Linked DNA regions of Homo sapiens: region 1 is linked to region 2. Evidence: promoter capture Hi-C in human tissues and cell types (Jung and others, 2019). All regions are on one chromosome and are shown on one strand. Each heading gives the region's core, a stretch centred on a gene start or on the middle of the fragment in contact. The rest is flanking DNA. Distances are from core to core; before and after follow the strand shown.

Evidence for each region. Contacts are between HindIII fragments. The study calls those that stand out against the background at their distance.
Region 1: a contact is called between a fragment that was not itself captured here and the fragment with the promoter of NMNAT2 in region 2, in 1 of the 25 tissues and cell types used here (spleen).

What each region holds. Positions count from the first base shown.
Region 1 is chr1:183,721,527-183,726,032 of GRCh38, reverse strand. It overlaps a transcript of RGL1 not described here. Among named protein-coding and RNA genes, the nearest start is that of APOBEC4, 70 kb to the right of the region's middle. RefSeq lists an enhancer at 1,716-2,216. The HindIII fragment of the contact is 4,359 bases long and covers 324-4,506 here.
Region 2 is chr1:183,415,628-183,420,197 of GRCh38, reverse strand. NMNAT2 (nicotinamide nucleotide adenylyltransferase 2) reads left to right here and starts at 1,818. Exons shown (of 11, transcript NM_015039.4): 1 at 1,818-2,015. The coding sequence starts at 1,931. The HindIII fragment of the contact is 5,834 bases long and covers 1-4,059 here.

The sequences.
Region 1 (4,506 bases), core at 1,254-3,753, 310 kb before region 2:
CCAAGTATTTTGAGATTTTCTATGTATCTTTCTATTGCTTATTTCTAATTTATTCCCTTGTAGTCAGAAAACATACTCTATATCATATCAATCCTTTTAAATTTCTGGAGACTTGTTTAATGGCTAAGCATGTGGTCTATCTTGGTAAATGCTCCACTGCACTAGAAAAGAATGTATATTTTGCATTTGTTAAGTGACATGTTCTTAAAAATGTCAATTAGTTCAAGTTGATGATTAGTTTAATTCTTCCATATTTCTATTTGTTGACTTGTTCTATTAATTACTAAAAGGAGTGGTGAAATTTGCAATTATAATTGTAGATTTATCTTTTTATCTTTCCAGATCTGTCAAGTGCTTAATGAATTTTGAGGTTTAGTTATAAGGTGAATACACATTTAGGAATGTTATGCCTTATTGATTCATTGACTCCATCATTGTGAAATATTCCTCTTTATCCCTGGTAATAGTTCTTATTTTTTTTGGCTATTAATATAACTAAAACAGCTTTATCTTTTCCCAGCTTTTCTCTTTTGTGTATTTTTATTTAAATAAATTTTTATAGACTACACATAATTGGGTTTTTAAAAGTTCAGCCTTGGCTCAGCAATTCTTCCTGCCATCATGTGAAGGATGCATTTGCCTCCCCTTCTGCCATGATTGTAAGTTTCCTGAGGCCTCCCAAGACATGCAGAACCGTCAATTAAACCTCTTTCCTTTATAAATTACTGAGTCTTGGGCAGTTCTTTATAGCAGTGTGAGAACAGACTAATACACCATCCTTCCTGGGAAAGCTTACCAGGTATTCAAAGGAACTTGGATATTGTCATCTGAGTTTTTGGTCACTGCAGCTGTATCTGCATTAGGGGGACACCTCGAGCTCAGTAACGCTGTGGCTCTTGCAGACTTATAGAGGTACCGCCTTGATGATCTTGGATAAGATTTGGAAGAATTCTCCAGATTACCAGGTAGAGACTCTTATTCTCTTCCCTTACTTTCTCCCAAAGAAACAGAGTCCGTTTCTTTCTCTCTCCTCCTCCTCCTCTTCCCTCCGTGTGTGTGTGTGTGTGTTGTGGTGCCTAGAGCTGGGGGAGAGATGACACAACCACCCCTGTGGCCACTACCACTGGGACTGTGCTAGGTTAGACCTGAAGCCAGCAGAGCTCTGGGCCTCGCTCAAAGCCTGCTATAACCACTATCTGCCTACTGCCTGTGTTCACTCAAGGCCCTAAGGTTCTATAATTAGCAGGTGGTGAAAACAGCCATGCTCATGTCCTTCGCTTAAGGATGGCAAGCTCCCCCCAGGCCCCAGGCAGGTCCAGAGATACCATCCAGGAGCCAGGGCCTAGAGTTGGAAATCTTAGGAATCTCCCTGGTGCTCTATTCTACTGCTGCTGTGCTGACACCCAAACTACAATATAAAGTCCCTCATACTCCTCCCTCCCCCTTCCACAAGCAGAGGAGTCTCTCTTCATGGTGACCACTGCTACAGGCCTGTGAGGAGTACTGCCAGGCTACTGCTGATGTTCACTTAAGGCCCAAGGGATCTCCAGTCAGCTTGTGGTGAATGTTGCCAGGCTTAGGACTCATATGTCAGGGAAGTGGGCTCCCCTCTGGCCTAGGGGACGTCCAGAAATGCTGTCCAAGAGCCAGGGCTTGGAACTGGGGACCCCAAGAGCCCACTTAGTGCTCTACCCTGCTGTGGCTGAGCTGGTACCTAAGCTGCAAGATGAAGTCTCCTTTACTCTTCCCTCTGCTTTTCTCAAGCAGAAACAGTCTCTCCTCATAGCCACCACAGCTGGGAATGTGCTGTGTCACACCTGAAGCCAGCACATCTCAGAGTCTCACCCAAGACCCATGGCATGTACTACCCACCTACCACTGCTGATTATTTTGGGTTCAAGAGCTCTTTTGCTAGCAAATGATGAATCTTGCCAGGACTGGGCTCTTCCCTTCAAGGCAATGAGTTTGCTTCTGGCCCAGGGTGTGTCTAGTAATGTTATCTGGGAGCTAGGGCCTGGGATAGGGGCTTCATAACTCTGCCTAATGCCCTATCCTACTGTGACTGAGCTGGTATCCAAGTTGCAAGACAAAGTCCTCTTTACTCTTCCCTCTCCTTTCTTCAAGCAGAAAGAAGGAGTCTTTTTTGGAGCTGTGAGCTGCACTGCGTGGGTTTGGGGAAGGAGTGGCATAAGCACTCTCTTGGCCATTCCAGCTGGTGTCTCTCTAGGTTGCATGCCCTCAAAATCCACTGGCTCTGAGCCCAGCACTAGGATTGCCTAGGAGTTGCAGTCCTTATGGCCTAGATTGCCTTTCAAGTTTATTTAGAACCCCAGAGCACTTTAGCCTGTGGTGGGGAGGCTTGCCAGAACTCAAGTTCCCACTGCTAGGATGGATAAAGCCCTGCTGGCTAGGGCTGGTCTAAATGCTTCCTCCACGTGCACTGGCTGAGTTCTGCCCAGTATTGTTTCCACTGTGACAGAGCAGCACTGAGTTCCAATGCAAGGTCCCACAGTCACTGTACTCTCCCTCCCGCAAGAGCACAGATTCTCTTTGCTATGCGGCCACTGCCAGGGAACCAGAGAGGGATGGCACTGACAAATCAAGACTGTTTTTCCTATCCTCTTCAGTGCCTCTTTCAGTGACATGAAGTTAAAACCAGGTACAGTGGTCACTCAACTGATTTTCAGTCCTTACGAAGGTGTTTTTTTATGTGGGTAGATAGTTGTTAAATTTGGTGTTCCTGCAAGGAGGACAATTGGTTGAAGGCTTCTATTCAGCCATCTTGCTCTGCCTCCTGCTAGCTGAGTATTTTTAAATTCCATTTTCTCAATACTATTGGTTTATTGGCTATACTTTATTTTTTAATGATTCATCTAGGGCTTTTAATACGCATCTTTATCTTATTTGTCTACCTTGGAAAAACATTACAATATTTTACATAAAATACAAGAATTTTGCATTGGTGTGCTTCCATTTCCCCCCCAATGCCCTTTGTGCTATTGTTGTCATGTATTTTACTTTCTCATGTCATGAATTCCCCCAATATATTGTTGCTGCTGTTTGTTGTTTTAAGCAGTCTACTGTTGCCTTTTTAAAATTTTTTAAATGATGAAATTAGTTTACCCACATATTTATCACTTTCAGAGCTCTTTATTCTTTTGTGTAGATCCACATTATCATCAGGTATCATTTTCCTTCTGCCTGAAGAACTTCCTTTAACAAGCCTTGTACTGCAGGTGTGCTGGCCAACTCTCACAACTTTTCTTTGTCTAAGGAAAGACATGTTTCATGTTTGAAAGGTGTTTTCTCTGGGTCTAGAATTTTAGATTGACAAAATTTGTTCCAGCATTTTAAAGATGTTACTCCATTGTCTTCTGACATGCATAGTTTCCGAAAACTCTGTTGTAATTATTTTTATGTTGTTCCCTGTATGGAATGTGCCCTTTTTTCTCTAATTTTAAGATTTTTGTCAGAATTAGTAACTTGCTGTAATTTGATAATGAAGTTCTTGGTGTGGTTTCCCTAGTAGGTATCTTGCTTCATGTTCCGAGTTTCTTAGCTCTGTGAGTTTATACCTTTCATAAAATATGAAAGATGTTTGGTCATTATTTCTTTAAATATTATCTCTGTTCTCTTTTACTCTCTTCTCTTCTGAAGCCTCCCATTTACATATGTCAGTCAACATGTTATTGCCTCCAGGTCTCTCTTATTTTTCTTGGTCTTTTTTATCTCTGTGTGTAAGCTTCATTTTGGATAGGTTCTATTGCTATGCCTTCAAGTTCATTTATCTTTTTTTTTTTTTTTGGTCCCAGACTATTAAGTGTTCTCTCCTTCTTCTTGGAATCCTCTCCATCATTGACTTCCATGACACTGTTCTGCCCTGTTCTCTTACCTTCTCCAGTGCTCCTCCACAGACTTCTCTGTGGGATCTGCCTTCATGTCCAGCTCCATAAATATTGGTATTCCCTAGTGTTCTGTCTTGACTTTCTTTCCTCACTCCAAATTTTCTCTTTGACTAATTTCATCCCTATCCATGCTTGCAACTGCAATCCACAGATGCTGAATCACAATGGTGAATGAAATAGTCACAGACCCTGACCCTATGAGGTCTTTAATCTAGTGACAGAGATAGTCATTACATAAATGATCACATAAATAATACCATCATCATTGTGATAAGTGTCTTAAAGTAAAAGTAGGCAAGGGAGCTAAACCAAGACACAGGCACAGTGTAGGTCTCTATGAGGAGGTGATGTTTAAGCTGGTCCTTTGAATGAAGTGAGGAAAACACATTCCAAGCTAAGAAAACAGTATCCAAGGTGGCCAAAGGTGAAGAAACTTCATCCTGAAGAGAGGAAACAACAGGCACAAGGGTGCCTAAATTAGAGTGCGCATTTGTATAATAGCAGGTTATCCAAAGATCTGATTACAGATTGGTTGAGCAAAGAAGACAAGATTGGTGAGGTATGCAGAGGACAGAAGGGGAAAGGCGTTTTCTAACATACT
Region 2 (4,570 bases), core at 569-3,068:
ATCCTCTATATCCAATTCATCTGCAAAGAATTATTGGTTCTTTCTGTTGTATAAGCATAGAACATCTATCTTCCCCTACCATTCTCAATTTCAGTCTACTCATTGTTTAAGCCAAATTTCAAAATCTATAAAACATATCCTGAGACCATCTACTTCTCGTTGCTCCCGTCTCTATAAACCCTGGTCTCAGGACAACTCCACTTGCCTAGGCTACCAGATTTTCCTAAATGCTTTCCTTGTCTTCCCATTTGCCCTCCCTTTCCACCCAGCAGCCAGAGTGATCCTATAAAAATGTAAATTACATATTATTCCCCTGCTTAAAAGCTTCAGTGGCTTCCTTTTGTTATTATTCCACTTAGAAAAGTGTCTAACTCTTGCCCTAGTCTACAAGCCCCATTTGATCTGGCCCTGATCACCTGCTGCTCAGTCTTCTATCATTTTTCCCCTTGCCCATACTTTCTAGCATCACTGGCCTTTCATTTCTATGAATACAGTAAGCCCTTCCCTGTCCCTGAATACGTGAGCTAGCAACTACTCCTGTCGCTCAGGTCTCACTGAAATGTCACCTCCCCAGAGAGGCCTTCTCAGACTACTTGATTCGTCCTCTCTTCTCCACTCACTCTCTGCTCTGTCAGAGAGTAAATTGCATTCACTTACTGTGCATTGCACAATTGCCATCTAATATTTATTGTCTATCTTCCTCCAGTAAAATGAAGACAGTGACTTTGCTTCACCAGCAGGGTTTATAGCAATACTTGACACATAATGAGCCCTCAAGAAACACTTGTTAAATGGTAAGTCTTTGTCTCAACTTTGGTAGCTTATGGAGGATCCCCATCATTTTCTTTTTTCTTTTTTTTTGTTTCGAGATGGATTCTCGCTGTCGCCCAGGTTGGAGTGCAGTGGTGCGATCTTCGCTCACTGCAACCTCTGCCTCCCAGGTTCAAGCAATTCTCCTGCCTCAGCCTCCTGAGTAGCTGGGATTACAAGCACTCGCCACCATGCCCGGCTAGTTTTTGTATTTGCTTTTTAGTAGAGACAGGGTTTCACCGTGCTGGCCAGGCTGGTCTCGAACTCCTGACCTCGTGATCCGCCCGCCTCGGCCTCCCAAAGTGCTGAGATTACAGGCATGAGCCACCGCACCCGGCGGATCCCCATAATTTTCTAATACAGTTTTAGTAACTCTGCCCCCTTCATGTTCTCTCAAACGGATAGCATTGCTTCGCCCACGAAAAGGATCAGTATTGCAGAGGAAGGGCTTAGATCACCCCTATCTCTCTGCAGCCAGCAGATCAAGATTTGGACTCAACTCAATAGTTTGGAATCATCAGATAAAGGAAAAAGGAAAAGCAGAAATGAATACTACTGAAATAAACAATGGTCATTTCTCACTTAAAATTTTGAGGAAGAGAGAAAGAAAAAATACCTTAAGATCAAACATTTTTTAACTTGGAGATGTTAGAGAAAGTAGGGGGGACAGAAAAATGTTAGAATGAGGAGGAAAACTGAATCAAGATGAGGCAAGAGGCAGAAAGAGCTCACACCATGCTGTGGGCTCTTGGTTCTGAGCTTGGATACCACGTCTTGCCTTCTGGATAAACTCTAAGGAAGACAGTGATGGAGTGAAGTGGGCTGGGGGCGATAGAGAGGATGGGGTGGGGCACCAGGCGAGAGATGCGAAGGAAGCCAGAACGAAAAGAGAGCGACCGAGGAGAGAAGAGAGCAGAGCAATACAAAAGCAGCCTCGGATCTAGCCGGAGCTGCAAGCGTTAAGGGGAGGCGGAGAGTGACGCGGTTTGCGTCTGGAGCGGCTCCTTGGAGTCCACAGCATCCACCGCCGGAGCCTCGCCTTCCTTTCTCCCTCTGCAGACACAACGAGACACAAAAAGAGAGGCAACCCCTAGACCACCGCGAAGGACCCATCTGCACCATGACCGAGACCACCAAGACCCACGTTATCTTGCTCGCCTGCGGCAGCTTCAATCCCATCACCAAAGGGCACATTCAGATGTTTGGTGAGTCCTCCCGCCCACCTCTGGAAGCCGCTTCCGCTCCTCTCCTTTCCCAGGCACCTGTGTTTTCCAGGGCGATCGAACGGGAAGGCGTGTGCCCCTTCGGAGGGGTGGGCCGGCTCATCCAGCTGGTGGAGGTCGGCCCCTTCATTTTGGACTCAGGGGAGGGTACGCAGACTGCGTTTCCGAGGCGTCACTTGCCGGGGCCAGACCCGGCTCGCAGGGGGCCAAAGGTGGGGGATGGGAGGGGACTAGAGATGAGTATCATTTGGGGCTGGGCAGGGGTTCGAGATACCAGAACTGGAGTGTGGCGGTGCGGTGGTTCGGCTACCAGGCTGGCGAAGACCGGGATGGGGGCAGAGGTTGGGGCGCCGAGTAGGGGAGGAAGGGGCTGGAGATAACGTGCTGTTTGTTTAGGATGGGCCGAAAGCTCGAAGGAGTTAAATCATGTATGTGCCTGGGATTCGCAAACACACTCGCGCCCGACACACCGGTGACAGGGGCTGGGGCTTCAAGATTAATTTCGGATTTGGCTGGTGATTCTGGGCGGCCCAGGGACCAGTGTTTGGGAATTGTGGGCCGTGTATTGCCCGCGCGAGGTGGATGCTGAGTGAATAGGGAGGGGGCCCTTTTCCGCCTAGGTTCGGCCTCAGGGACCCGCTGCCTAGGACGGGGAGGGGGCCGGGCGGAGGCTGCGGGAGGCCCTGCGCGAGCCGGAGCCGAAGGATCGGGGCCCAAGTTGGCTGAGGCTCTGCCCAGGGTGGCGATGGCACTCGGAAGGCTTGAGGCGTCTAGTGTGTGTACGAATGTGCGAATGACTGTGTGTGAGTATATGCGTGTGCGTGTTGGGGGGAGGGGACTTATCGCGCGTTTGTTTCTTAGAAGCTTTGGGGCGTGGAGTCAGAGAGAGCGAGCGGGGGCATCCGGCTGGCTGGTTCGGGGTCCAGCAGCGGTAGGGGAAAGGTGATCGATAGATGCCTATTGGAGGTCTCGCGCCACCGGTGGGAAGCCACGCGGCTTCGCAGCTGCTCGTAGGACTCAAAGGCGTGGGGCATGAGCGTTTAGACACGGAAAGAGGGACGCGGAGGTCACTTTAGAAGCAGGAATTGAGAAGTTAGAAGTTGGGGGTGCTTTTTCTTGAAACTGAGAGAAGCGAGGAGTAGGGAAAAGCGAGTGGGCTGGGATGGATGAGAGAGCGTGTGGGAGGCCCTGACCTGGCCCGCCAGCAAGGCGCTCTCCAGAGGCGGCGGTGCTGAAATGCAGGGCGCGCCGGAGCTGGATGCGGGCACACGTGTTTATCCGGAGCCTGAGGACTGCGCGAGCCCTCCTAGGGAGGTTTAGTGAAAACCACACCACAGCGGTAAAGACAGGGCGAGGTGGCTTAGGCTAAAAATATTCATCTTTAAACTTAAAAGGTGCGCTGAACTGGGCTCGCTTGTTAAAAACCTCATGGAAAGAATATAGAACTACTTTGAGCAAAGGGCAAATCGGGTAGGCATATCTACACGATAGAAGGAGGGAGGCTGAGAGATAGCCATCCCTTCTTCACCATTCCTTCAGCTTTCAAAAGTCTTTTATTAAGAACCAATGCCAACTTGCCTGTTAAATAAGGACTTCTGTTCCAGCATCAGGGTAGACAAGAGCATGTCATCAGTCTTCTAAGGACTATCAGTGCCCTAAGAACACTCCACTTTCACTTTCCTTTGATGCTGGTGTCTTCATCCCTTTCCTTCTTTTCCTGTCTGTCCATATGTCCTCTAGCACTTTATGTTGATGCGCTTTACTCCTCTCCCTTGACCAGGCAATGATGGGTTTTCCTTTGGAACCAAGAGAAAGGAGGAGTAGGGAAGAGCCATTGGGCTGGGGATGAAACTCTGTGGCTCTAAGAATCTTTGATGACCCAGCAGGTACTGCTCCTTTCTTCCTGAAGCTAGGAAATCCCAGTTGTTTTAGATTACAAGAGAAACAGATTTGGATTGAGAACCAAAGATTCTGTCTTGTAGCTGAAGATTCTTTGTTAACAGTAATAAAGGCTTTTGTTAAGCGAATGCTGACCTGCCAATTCTCCATGAGCTTCAAGGATAGACTATGTGGAAATAGACCTGAGTTGCAGTGGAAGGGTTTAGATATAGAAAGGTGAAAGGAGACTTTTGGCAGTAACGATTATTTACTTAGTATAAGAACTGAGGACCAGGGCAGAATGTGAACAAAGTCCTTTGCATGTCCATTAAAGTATAATTCAGAGAGTAATACAAAAAAAGGATATAATATGTTCACTCACTATGGCTTTAAGGAGTTTATTACCTAATGAAGAATTTAGCACATAAACAGGTGAAAATGAGGCAAGAATAAGAACACAAAATACACATTCAACTATTTTTGGTAGAATGTCTTATTGGAATCTTTGAGCTCTGGATAAATTTTATAATTTATTTTTGTAGAGCAGTTCTGGTTAACAAAGCCATTTCATCTATGTTATGTTACTTATTCCTGTTAAAAACCTTATAAGAAAAACATTATTACCCTTATTTTACAAATGAGAAACTGACAGAAGCCAA